3 separate regions of the Homo sapiens genome follow, and all the other regions are linked to region 3. The links are contacts of gene promoters, found by promoter capture Hi-C in blood cells and fetal thymus (Javierre and others, 2016). All regions are on one chromosome and are shown on one strand. The core of a region is centred on a gene start or on the middle of the fragment in contact, and the rest is flanking DNA. Distances in the headings are between cores, read along the strand shown.

Evidence for each region. Contacts are between HindIII fragments. The CHiCAGO score rates a contact against its expected background, and 5 or more counts as called.
Region 1: a contact is called between a fragment that was not itself captured here and the fragment with the promoter of PAPOLB in region 3, in 6 of 17 cell types (M2 macrophages, endothelial precursors, erythroblasts and 3 more). The highest score is 9.9, in M2 macrophages.
Region 2: a contact is called between a fragment that was not itself captured here and the fragment with the promoter of PAPOLB in region 3, in 10 of 17 cell types (M2 macrophages, erythroblasts, endothelial precursors and 7 more). The highest score is 10.8, in M2 macrophages.

Annotation. Positions count from the first base shown.
Region 1 is chr7:5,100,991-5,105,370 of GRCh38, forward strand. No RefSeq gene overlaps it. Among named protein-coding and RNA genes, the nearest start is that of RBAKDN, 31 kb to the left of the region's middle. The HindIII fragment of the contact is 4,338 bases long and covers 1-3,795 here.
Region 2 is chr7:5,084,614-5,088,775 of GRCh38, forward strand. No RefSeq gene overlaps it. Among named protein-coding and RNA genes, the nearest start is that of RBAKDN, 15 kb to the left of the region's middle. The HindIII fragment of the contact is 5,458 bases long and covers 1-4,162 here.
Region 3 is chr7:4,860,289-4,864,575 of GRCh38, forward strand. PAPOLB (poly(A) polymerase beta) reads right to left here and starts at 1,742. Exons shown (of 1, transcript NM_020144.5): 1 at 1-1,742. The coding sequence starts at 1,522. The region is part of intron 2 of RADIL (Rap associating with DIL domain); the gene reads right to left. RefSeq lists an enhancer at 985-1,597. The HindIII fragment of the contact is 2,297 bases long and covers 421-2,717 here.

The sequences.
Region 1 (4,380 bases), core at 377-2,876, 240 kb after region 3:
CAGGCATGAGCCACCGCGCCCGGCCGTGAAGGATCTTTATAATGTGCTGCTGGATTTGGTTTGCTAGTATTTTGTTAAGGATCTTTGCATCTGTGTTCATCAGGGATATTGGCCTGTAGTTTTCTTTTTGTGTTGTGTTCTTGTCTGGTTTTCGTCTTAGAGTAATATTGGCCTTGTAGAATGATATTGGAAGAATTCCTTCCCTTCGATTTTCTGGAAAAGTTTGAGAAAAATTGGCATTGGTACTTTAAATGTTTGGTAGAATTCAGCAGTGAATCTGTGGTTCTTCTTTGATGAGATTTTTTTTTTGAGATGGAGTTTTGCTCTTTTTGCCCAGGCTGGAGTGCATTGGCACGATCTTGGCTCACTGCAACCTCCACCTCCCAGGTTCAAGTGATTCTCCTGCCTCAGCCTCCCGAGTAGCTCGGATTACAGGCACGTGCCACCACGCCTAGCTAATACTGTATTTTTAGTAAAGACAGGGTTTTACCACATTGGTGAGGCTGGTCTCAAGCTACTGACCTCAGGTGATCTGCCCACTTCGGCCTCCTAAAGTGCTGGGATTACAGGTGTCAGCCACCAGACCCGGCTGAATTTTTTTTTTTTTTTTTTTTTTTTTTTAGACAGAGTCTCCCACTGTCGCCCGGACTGGAGTGCAGGGGCGCGATCTCGGCTCACTGCAACCTCCACCTCCTGGATTCAAGCGATTCTCCTCCCTCAGGCTCCCGAGTAGGTGGGATTACAGGCACTTACTACCATGCCCAGCTAATTGTTTGTATTTTTAGTAGAGAGAGGGTTTTACCACATTGGCCAGGCTGGTCTCGAACTCCTAACCTTGTGATTCACCTACCTCAGCCTCCCAAAGTGCTGGGATTATGGGTGTGAGCCACTGCACCTAGCCCAACTTTTTTTTTTTTAGACGAAGTCTTGCTGTGTCACCCAGGCTGGAGTATAGTGGTGTGATCCTGCCTCACTGCAGTTGCGAACTCCTGGGCTCAAGTGATCCTTCTGCTTCAGCATCCTAAGTAGCTGAGACCACAGGTGCACACCATCATGTCTGGTTAATTGTTTAATTTTTTTCCCCGCAGGAACAGGGTCTTGCTTTGTTGCCTAGGCTGGTCTCAAAACCCTGGCCTCAAGGTTTACTACATGCATACAATGTGTATTGATCAAATCAGGGTAATTAGGATATCCATCACCTCAACTATTTGTCATTTCTTTGTGTTGGAAACATTTTAAATATTTTCTTCTAGCGATTTTGAAATATACAATAAATTATTGCTAACTATAGTCACCCAACTGTGCTATGAAACACAAGAACTTATTCCTTCTATCTAACTGTATTTGTGTACTTATTAACCAATTTCTCATCACTCCCTCCTTCATTCTGTTTCCCACTGGAGTGCAGTAGTATGATCATGGCTCACTGTAGCCTCTCTTTCTCCTCTAACTAAATGATTTCAAATGACTTATCTTCATCTTCATGTTCATTGATTTTTTGTTTTGTTTTGTTTTGAGACAGGATCTCACTTTGTCACCCAGGGTAGAGTGCAGTGGTGTAATCATGGGTCACTGCAGCCTTGACTTCCTGGGTTCACGTGATCTTCCCACCTCAGCCTCCTGGGTAGCTGGGACTACAGGTGTACACCACCATACCCTGATAATTTAAAAAAAAATTTTTTTTTTAAATAGGGTTTTGCCGTGTTGCTTATGCTGGTCTTGAACTCCTAGCCTCAAGCAATCTGCCTGCTTCAGCTTCCCAAAGTTCTAAGATTACAAGCATAAGCCACTGCTGTTGAAGCTCTAAATGGCATTTTTTCATTTTAGTCCTTGTTCACCTCAGCTCTAGAATTTCTTTTTTTGTGATTTCTGTATCTCTGTTGAACTTTACATTTTGTTCATATATTGTTTATCTGATTTTGACGAGTTGTATCTGTGTTCTCTTGTAACATGCTGAGCTTCTTTAAAACAGTTATTTTGAATTCTTTTTCAGTTAATTCATAGATCTCCTTTTCTTTGGGGTTGGTCATTTGAAATGTGTTGTGTTCCTTTGGTGATGTCATGTTTCTTTTCTATGCAGTTATTCTTGGCTTTTCTGCTCTACTCGGTGGCTGCATCTTTTTAACTGGACTCTGGGAGTTCTCCCAGAGCTATTTTAGTCTGTGGATAGTTGTTAAATCATTGTTTTTGTGGGAGTACAAGGGCTAGGACCTCCTAGTCCACCATCTTGATCACATTACACCAAGAATCAGTCCACTCTGAGATCATCCGTCTTCTGGCCACCCTTTGGTTTACATTTTAAGAAAATGTGGACAGAGCTGTAACTTTCCTCTCCTCTCTCCAGAGAGCTGCCTACCTCTCTGGAGATAGGTATTTTGGCTATTCATTTCCTAGGTTCAAGTTTATCCCAAGACTTGTACAGTCTCTTCATCACTGCAGGGAGGTGGCCTCTTATCCCCTTAGCCCAGAAGTTTCAGATTCCCCCAGGATTCGGCAGTTTTGAATTCCCAACTCTTCCACTCCCTCTCATCCCTCCAGCCCTCATCCTTCAGAGACCATCCTGTCACTTAGGCACCACAGTGTTGGGGGAGAAGATCAGTAATGAGGCCCTGGGGCTTTGGATCAAGCCAGACCCTTAAGTGGGCCCTGGGAAACCTATTAAGTAACTATTTTCTTATTAAGAGTATAAGTATTCCCTTCTTACTGGGAATAGAAGTTGAAAGATTGACAGAGATAAGGGAGAAAGGTGTGGTAGAGTCCGTCTCCTCCCATTTCCTACAAAATCCTTCTACAGTTGACTCCGCTCTTACTTTTGTTTACAGAGGAGCTGACGTTTCATCTGGGCCTGAAGAATGAGTAAATTTCCAGGTGGGAAAAGGTCATTGTGATATTGGAGAGGTATGTATAAGAATGGGGAAAATGGTCCAGTATGGTGGCTCATGCCTGTAATCCCAGCACTTTGGGAGGCCAAGTTAGGTGGATCACCTGCGGTCAGGAGTTCAAAACCAGCCTGACCAACATGGTGAAACCCCATGTTTCTAAACTAAAAATACAAAATTACCCAGGCGTAGTGGCACGTGCCTGTAATCACAGATACTTGGGAGTCTGAGGCAAGAGAATCACTTGAACCTGGGAGGCGGAGGTTGCAGTGAGCCGAGAGCGTGCCATTGCACTCCAGCCTGGGCAACAAGAGTGAAACTCCATCTCAAACCACCCCCTCCCCCCGCCAAAAAAAAAAATAGTTCTGGGAGAAATGAGTGAGTGGGGCACATTCAGGTTGTTGTATAGCTCGTAAGGAATGAGGTAGAAGATGGTAGAGGTTGAGACCACAAAGCTATGCTGGGTCCATATTGTGACTGTTGGAACCTGGGCTTCTTCCATTCAGAATCCAAGTCATCTTCTCCTCAACTTAAAGTTGATCTCTTCCTCTCTTAGGAGTCATTGTTAGGACTTGTATTCCTTCCAGGATAGGAAGGTGACCAATTGAGCCTGGCCAACTAAAGAGTGGAGAGTTAGAGAAGGCTGGAACTCAGGTATGATGGTCTTGAGTCTGGACATGTCCATTACTGGCTTGTTGTTTTTTAGCCTCCCAGCTAATTAATCAGAGTCAATAACATTATTAGCAATGCTTTAACAACCCTTACCTAGTACTTCCTATGTTCTAACACTTTATATCCATTAACTAATTTGGTCTTCCTTCCTCTACAAAATCGATTCCACTGTGATCCTCATTTTGCAGTTGAGGAAACTGAGGCAGAGGGTTAAGTCACTTGTCTCTAGTTAGTGGGAGAGCAAAGCTTTGACCAAGGCAGTCTGGCTCAAACACACACTCTAATCACTCTGCTAGGGGGTCTCACGCTGGTATGTGAGATGAAATTTTTAGAGACAGGGTCTCGCTCCATCACCCACACTGGAGTGCAATGGTGTGATCGCGTCTCAGTGTAGCCTTGAATTCCTGGATTCAAGTGATCCTCTTGTCTCATCCTCCCAAGTAGCTGTGGCTCCAGGACTACAGGTGCACTCCAGCATGGCAGGCTAATTTTAAAAAAATAAAATTAGTAAAGACGAGATCTTTCTATGTTTCCCAGACTGGTCTTGAATTCCTGGCCTCAAGCTATCTTCCCACCTTGGCCTCTCAAAGCGTTGGGATTACAGGCGTGAGCCACCATGCCTGCCATGGATGTCTTATTTTATTTTATTTATTTTTTTGAGACGGAGTCTCGCCCTGTCGCCCAGGCTGGAGTGCAGTGGCATGATCTCGGCTTACTGCAACCTCCGCCTCCCAGGTTCAAGTGATTCTCCTGCCCCAGCCTCCCAAGTAGCTGAGATTACAGGCACCCGCCACCATACCCAGCTAATTTTTGTATTTTTAGTAGAGAC
Region 2 (4,162 bases), core at 641-3,140, 220 kb after region 3:
GGAAGCATATGCGCCAGAGGGTGGAGATGTGCAGTGGGCTGCGAACAGGAGGCCTGTTCAAAGTCAGAGTGAAGGCTGGGCACAGTGGCTCATGCCTGTAACCCCAGCACTTTGGGAAGCCAAAGCAGGAGACTCTCTTGAGGCCAGGAGTTCGAGACCAGCCTGGGCAACATAGTGAGACCCGCATCTCTACAAAAAATAAAAATAGAAAAATTAGCCAGATGTGGTGGTGCACACCTGTAGTTCCAGCTACTTGGGAGGCGGGGGTGGGAGGATTGCTTGAGCCCAGGAGCTGGAAGCTGCAGTGAGCTGTGATTGCACTACTGCACTCCAGCCTGGGAAACAGAGCCAGACCCTATGTCCCTTTTTTTTTTTTTTTTTTTTTTTTTTTGAGACAGAGTCTTGCTCTGTTACCAGGCTGGAATGCAATGGCATGACCTCAGCTCACTGCAACCTCCGCCTCCCGGGTTCAAGCAATTCTCCTGCCTCAGCATCCTGAGTAGCTGGGACTACAGGCGCCCGCCACCATGCCCGGCTAATTTTTGTATTTTTAGTAGAGATGGAGTTTCACCATGTTGGCCAAGATGGTCTCCATCTCCTGACTTCGTGATCTGACTGCCTGGGGCTCCCAAAGTGCTAGGATGACAGGGGTGAGCTAACCCGACGTCTTTAAAAAAAAAAAAAAAAGTGTAAATGAAGAGTGGTAAGACATGAGACCCCCTCTACACTGGGCTGGGTGGTCGCTCGCCCCAGTCTGCAGAGGGAAAGAAAAGGTCTGAACTTGGAGGTGTGAAAATGGAACCTCTCTAGAAAGCTGCACCCTGGCCAGCGACACCACAGCTGTGTCTCCTGGAGCTGGGAGCATCCCCACTCACACCTCAGGGAGGGAGTGGAGTATTCCCAGGTGCAGATATGGCCCGGTGCAGATACGAACCCAACCAAGTTAAAGCCCTCTTGAGGGTCCTGCCGCTGTCCCCATGACAAGTGCGAGGCAGCCCTGCCCCCTGGTGGCAGCACTCAGAACTGCATCAGCAGGTGGGCTGCCCTAGGACCGGGGGACATCGCAGGCAACATAAATGCCCTTGTGGGTTACAATCTAATAAGGAAGATGTTCAATCATCTTATTAAAATAATCGGCCGGGCGCGGTGGCTCACGCCTGTAATCCCAGCACTTTGGGCGGCCCAGGCGGGCAGATCACGAGGTCAGGAGATCGAGACCATCCTGGCTAACACGGTGAAACCCTGTCTCTACTAAAAATACAAAAATTAGCCGGGCGTGTGGCGGGCACCTGTAGTCCCAGCTACTCCGGAGGTTGAGGCAGGAGAATCGCTTGAACCCGGGAGGCAGAGCTTGCAGTGAGCCGAGATTGCGCCACTGCACTGCAGCCTGGGCGACAGAGTGAGACTCCGTCTCAAAAAAAGAAAAAAAAATTTAGCCTGGCGTGCTGGCCTATAATCCCAGCAACTTGGGAGGCAGAGGAAGGAGAATTGCTTGAACCCGGGAGGCGGAGGTTGCAGTGAGCCGAGATTGCACCACTGCACTCCAGCCTGGGCAACAGAGGCAGACTCTGTCTCAAAAAGAAAAAAAAAATTACTGCTGTGAAGGGAACAAGGGGCTGAAGTAATTACAGGGGGGCCAGGGACAAGGTGGCATTTATGAGAGGTTGGGGATGAGATTTTGAAGATGGTCTCTGGGTTCCAGGCCGAGCTCACTCTGGTGCTCCTCTGGGCGGTGGAGCGGGGCTCTTCGCTGGGCTGCTTATTCCAGGCTCTGAGCTCTGGGCGGTGGGCTCAGGCTCTCCCAGGGATGTCGGTGTCTGTGCGGTTGCCACTGCCCAGTGGCCTGGGTTCTGCTTCTCCTCTGGACTCAGGTTCTCTCTGGGGCTGACAAGATCCAGGTGGGCAGAGAATGAGGTGAAGGCTTGAAGACCAAATCATGGGAGATGCCGGGAATGGGTGGTGCTGTCCACTCTGACCGCAATTTCCCATCAATATCCAGACCTGTGCCTGCAACATCAAGACCTGTGCCTGTTCCTAAAGAGTGCGGGTACCTGAAGCCCCCCACAAGGGCTCCCCCTCTACAAGACCTGCCCCCAGGATCTTAGGGCCTGGGAAAAGCAGGAGCTAAGATGAGGGTTTTGGGGGAGAGGAGGGGACCCCTTCATTGACTCCATGGACCAGCCTCAAAACAGAGATGGAGGCAGAGATGTTCAGAGATAGTACCAGTGTCAAGGAAACTCCTGTGTCGCCCCTAGGTCAGGCTGCCCTGGAGAGAAGTCCAGAGCCCCTGGAGGGGATAGACTGAGCTAGAGAGATAAGGGGGTGGCTGGTGCTCCCCTACTTCATCAGATAGGACTGTGAAGCCTGGGAGCAGGCTGGGAGTCCGAGGATATGGGAGAACATTCACAGCTGAGAAGTAAAGGAGAGGGTGGGCGCGGCAGCTCATGCCTGTAATCCCAGCACTTTGGGAGGCCGAGGTGGGCAGATGACTTGAGCTCAGAGGTTCAAGGCCAGCCTGGGCAACATGGCGAAACCCCGTCTCTACCAAAAATTACAAAAACTAGCTGGGCATGGTGGTACGTGCCTGTAGTCCTAGCTATTTGGGAGGCTGAGGTGGGAGGATCGCTTGAGCCCAGGAAGCAGAGGTTGCAGTGAGCTGAGATCACACTACTGCATTCCAGCCTGGGTGACCGAGCGAGACCCTGTCTTAAAAAGAAGAAGTAAAAGACTGATTCATCCCCTCCTGGACACATAGCCCCTCTAGAGCTGTCTTTGACAGTCTCGGCTGCCATAACAAAGTCCCATAGACTGGCTGCCTTATCAACAATAGATATCTATTTCTCACAACTCTGGAGACTGAAGATCTGAGATCAGGGTACATGGTCAGCTTCTGGTGAGGGTCCTCTTCTGGGTTCCAGATCACAGACTTCTAGTTGTGTCTTCATGTGGTGGAAAAAGAGGGAGCTCTCTGGGGTCCCATTGATTGATCGATTGATTGATGGAGATGGAGTTTCACTCTTGTCACCCAGGCTGGAGTGCAGTGGCATGATCTCGGCTCACTGCAGCCTCCACCTCCCCGGTTCAAGCCATTCTCCTGCCTCAGCCTCCCAAGTAGCTGGGATTACAGGCATCTGCCACCATGCCCAGCTAATTTTTTGTATTTTTAGTAGAGACGGGGTTTCACCATGTTGGGCAGGCTGGTCTTGAACTTCTGACCTCATGATCCTCCAGCCTCAGCCTCCTTAAGTGCAGGCATTACAGGTGTGAGCCACCGCACCCGGCCATCCCTTTTATTAATATAAGGGCACTATGCCATTCGTGAGGGTAACACCCAATCACCTCCCAAAGGCCCATGTCTCATAATACCATTACCTTAGAGGGTAGGTTTCAACATATAAATGTTGGGGGGAACATGTTCAGTCTACTGCAAGAGCAATGGGGTAAGTTTCAGTATTGGGGTGTGCATGAAATGGGGGACAATATTGCAGGCAAAGACACTGGCTGAGAGCAACCCCTCCAGCTCGTACCCCAAATACCCCATTAAGATCTCATTTATTTGTCCACAGAATGGGAACAGAAATAGCACTTTGGCCAGGCGCGGTGGCTCACGCCTGTAATCCCAGCACTTTGGGAGGCCTAGGTGAGTGGATCACGAGGTCAGGAGTTTGAGACAGGCCTGGCCAATATGGTAAAACCCCGTCTCTACTAATACTACAAAAATTAGCCGGGCATGGTGGCTTATGCCTGTAATCCCAGCTACTCAGGAGGCTGAGGCAGGAGAATCACTTGAACCCAGGAAGCGGAGGTTGCAGTGAGCCGAGATTGCGCCATTGCACTACAGCCTGGGCAACAAGAGTGAAACTCTGTCTCCGAAAAAAAAAAAAAAAAAAAAAAAAAAGGAAGGAAGAAATAGCACCGCCCATGGGAATGGGATTCCCGCCCTCTTGGGCTGCTGTGTTTGGCTCCAGAGTGTAGAGCCTGGGCTTGTGAAGACAGGGGGAGCCTTCCAGGCCTCTAATTTCCTGAAGCCATTTGTGGGGACTCCTGAACACACCTGGAGGAAGTCCCGCCTCTCTCCAGAAGAACAGGGCAAAACACTGCCCTCTGACGACAAATTGTAGTTGCTTTTCCCAGGAGCACTGAGCTTTAATTTTTTTTTTTT
Region 3 (4,287 bases), core at 492-2,991:
CTTTCTTGTCCTGAAGCACATGATGAGGCAGCAGCTGGTGAAGTTCCTTTCTTCTTAAATGCATTGCAGTAATTTTCATACCCATCTCAAACATCTTACTATTCACTGCTTGCCTATAAACAGTATCTGTGAAAGACTGGATATCATAGGTGAGATCAATGCTGAGAATTTCAGAATTATCTGGCTTTTTTAGCCCTAACCCAATCACCCACATTGTACGAAATTCTTCCATATCAGGATTTTCTTTGGGTGCTGGAAATGACTGTGGATTCACATGTGCCAGTGTAATAAATTCATTCTTCTCCAAGCTCCCAACCAGGATTCGGATCTTTGATTCCACCAAGCCCACCCATTCTAAATGTTGTTTTTCTGTTGATGCACTTGCCAGAAGTACAATATAATGCTTGTACTTTTGAAAGAAGCTTGGAGCTTCAAAGAGTTTGGACCACTCTGCCTTACTTAGCAAAATCTCGTGTGTGATAGCAAGCCCCTGTTTAAACTCCTCAATCATGACCATCCTGGTTGAAATAGACACGTTGTATGTGGAGTTCTGCTGTGGGTATGCTGGTGTGATGATAGGCATAAGATGGTACCTATCACTGGGATTTACTCTTGGGTCCCATACAGGCAAATTAAGATTCCGTTCTTCAGGCTCCTTCAGTAACACTGGGTTTGGCCATTCCCATTCTGAAAATACCAAGAAGAATTTCCGTACAAGAGTTGACGCTACTGCATTTGGATAAAGCTGACAAGTTCTTGCTACTAGCATGGCCCAGGAAACACCTCCGAGGAAACCTAATATATTGGAATAGATATTGTGGCACTTGGCCCACAGTTTGATGGCTCTCAGAGTCAGCCTGAAGTTGTCAATGTTTGGCACTAGATGTAAAATTTCATCGGTTACCCGGCAACCATTAAGGCTTCTTATGCATCTAATGTCTAAATTTTTAAGTAGACTGTCATCTCTTAAGTCCAAATCTTCTGGAATAGTCTGTAGTGCTAATCTTGCAAATAAAATATCAATCTCTATCCCATCAAAACACAGTTTGATAACTGGCACAAATGCCTCCTCGACAGCCCTTAAATCTTTCACTTCCTCCTGTAGTTTCAGTTTAGCATAGAATGAGGTGAAAAAGTCGCTTCGATCCACATGACTTGGTGCAACGCACAAGGCGTCAATATCTGCGCCTTTCGTATGTACTCCTAATCTGTAAGAGCCAAACGTAAAAATCTTTCCTCCAACGTTTTCAATTACAGACTGGGGAAGACTCTTGCTTTCACTGATTTCGCGTATCCATTCCTTTACCAGATTATTTAATTTTTCCAAAACTAAAATCCTGCGCTGCAGTTCCTCTTCCTCTTCGAAGACCCCGAAGGGCCTGAGGGTTTCTATTAGCCTCTGGGTGAGGAGGCAGTCCGTCTCCTTGGGGACCGCTAGACTGATAGGCGAGGAGACGCCGTAGCGATTCGGCGGCGGCGCCGGCTGCGGTGGTCCCTGGGTTGTCACCGGAAACGGCATCATCTTTCAGCGCCCGCCCCGCCAGGGCACGTCCCCCACCACCGCGACCTTCGCGGCCGCCGCCCGGGTCATGATCCGCTGAGGCGGAAGGGCAGGGCTTCTAGCTGCCCTGGTCCGACCCCACTCCCACTCCCGCTGCGCGCCCGCCGCTTCAGGAGCTTCTCCTCCTTCCCCTCAGCCCCAACATGGCGCCAGACCCCTCAGCGGCTGCGTTCCAGAACCTACCGTACACGCGCGGGCGCCTGCGCACCCGCCGCCAGCGCGAGGGCTCACGGGAGCCACAGCGTTCTGGGCTGGGGCTCCTACCGCTGCGCGGGGGGCTATACATGGGGGTGGGCAGGATTCACGTTGTTGATGACCGGCCAAACTCAACCCTTTATTGCCACTATTTTACATATTTGCCCAACTTTACCCATCTAATTCTTTGCTCTCCAAGTCCCTTGACATCGCAGATGTGCATCCTTTTTGGGGGCACCCTCAGCACTCTTCACCCTAGCGTGCACCCTTTGGAAGTCCAAAGACCCCTTCGTGGTGGGAACCCGCGGTGGAAAGCAGCTTCTGTCTTGTTTCTTGGGCCGTTGCTGGACATTGGTTTAGCTGGGGCAGCATTTCGAGGTCGACATTTGTGTTCTGGCCATGCTTTAAGGGCGCGATACTGCTGTCCTCTGGTTCCCGTTGAGAATTCCGCAGCTAGGTGAACTACTGCTCGTCTGTCTTTTCTTATGGCAGCTATAAAAGTGTCTGTCCCTAGTGCCCTGTGATCCCACCACTGTGTGTCCAGGCATAGATTTCTCTTTAATAATCTTACCCAGGCTGGGCGCAGTGGCTCACGCCTGTAATCCCAGCACTATGGGAGGCCGAGGCGGGCAGATCACCTGAGGTCAGGAGTTGGAGACCAGCCTCAACATGGAGAAACCCCGTCACTACTAAAAATACAAAATTAGCCGGGCGTGGTGGTGCATGCCTGTAATCCCAGCTACTCGGGAGGCTGAGGCAGGAGAATTGCTTGAACCTGAGAGGCAGAGGTTGCGGTGAGCCAAGATCACACCATTGCACTCCAGCCTGGGCAACAAGAGTGAAACTCTGTCTCAAAAAAAAAAATAAAATTAAAAATAAAAATAAAAAATAAAAAATATAATCTTACCCAGGATACACTATGATTCCCGAATCAGAAGTCATGCTTTTTATGATCTCCAGAAGCTTCTTGGGCACTTCCTGGGAATATGTTCTCCCACTTGTCTCCTGATTCTCTTCATCTAGACACGTTGTCAACCTTCTCACTCTGTCCTCCATGTCTCTTAAGCCGTGTGTCTTTCTGGGTGATGCCAGATTACCTCCAAGTCCTCTCTTCAGTTGTATTTAGTCTGCTGTTTAAGCATCATTGAAATATCCACTTAAATACTTATATTTCACTATTTTGTTCTTTTCCAAGCTTCTCTGCCTTTTAGATGGCATTCTGTTCTTTCATGTTTTTCCCCCTACCTTTTATTTCTTTAAACGTGTTAAACATACTTATTTAGTACTCTATAACTAATTATTCTAATTCCGAATGCTCTTGAGAAACTGTATAGTTTGTTGTTATCCAAGAACTCAGAGTGGTATTACCTCTTGGGTCTTGTAATTTTGGATTGTGAGCTCATTTCTGGTGAAGCTTGGAATGCCTGTGTAGACGCTGTGTCCTTCCAAAGAGGATTTGCTTTGTTTCCAGTAGATGTTCTTGTACACTATAGAATTGCAGTCAGTGTAATTTCTTATCCAGGGATTATCCACAACATCTAGATGGTGCAACTTTGAACCCCAAATACATGTAAGAGGACATGTGGTTTTCATTTTTAAGGAACAGTCTTTAGTTTTTCCCACCCAAGTCAAGAGAGAGAACTTCCTTTGCCATCTCCTTTCACCAGGTAGCAGATTCTTCTTACTCCATTTTTTCACTCAATGTGTCACCCTTTGAGGATTCCAATTGTATTTGGAGGGGTCTCAATTCTAACTCCCTACCTTTTAAGGTCCCAAGAGCTTTCTGTCTCTTCTTGGACAGCTGCTAAACTTAAGTTTCTCAGTTTCCAAGACTGGCCAATGCCTCTAGGGCGGTTCTAGTTTCAGAATCAGCTACAATCCTGAGGTTTCAAGGTATCCCTTTTTCTTCCAGCCCTAGAGACTTCCTTTATTTTCCTGGGTACTCAGCTATGCATTCAAAAAAATGATTTCTTATATTTATCCAACATTTCCAGGCACTTTACATAGAAAGATTTTCTGGGATAATTAATCCCATATATTGCCAGAAATATAAATACCTTCTTTTTAATCCATTTCAACATTGGCTTACATGCTCAAAAACAGCTATCAGCAAGGTCTTTGGTGACCTCCATGTTGCCCAACCCATGACCCCAATGATTTCCATCTTCTTTGACCTATGGTAGCTTCATCTTGGCCTCTGCGACACCATACTCTTTGTCTTCCACATGTCTGGCCAGTCCTCAGTCAAATTTGCTGATTCCTCCTCCTTTACTTGACCTCTAAATGTTGGGAGTTCCTCCAGTTTCCATTCTAAGCCCTCATTTCTCCTCACTGCATGTACATTCACTGCCTGGTTAATCTGCTGATTTCCACAGCTTTAAATACCACTTACTTACAGATTAATTCATATTTTAATCAGACTCTCTTCTGAACTCCAGATCCATATTATCTGACTGCCTGTGGTTGCCACCTATATTTGGATGCCTTTAACTTAACATAGTTTAAAGAGAACTCTAACTCATCCTCCCACA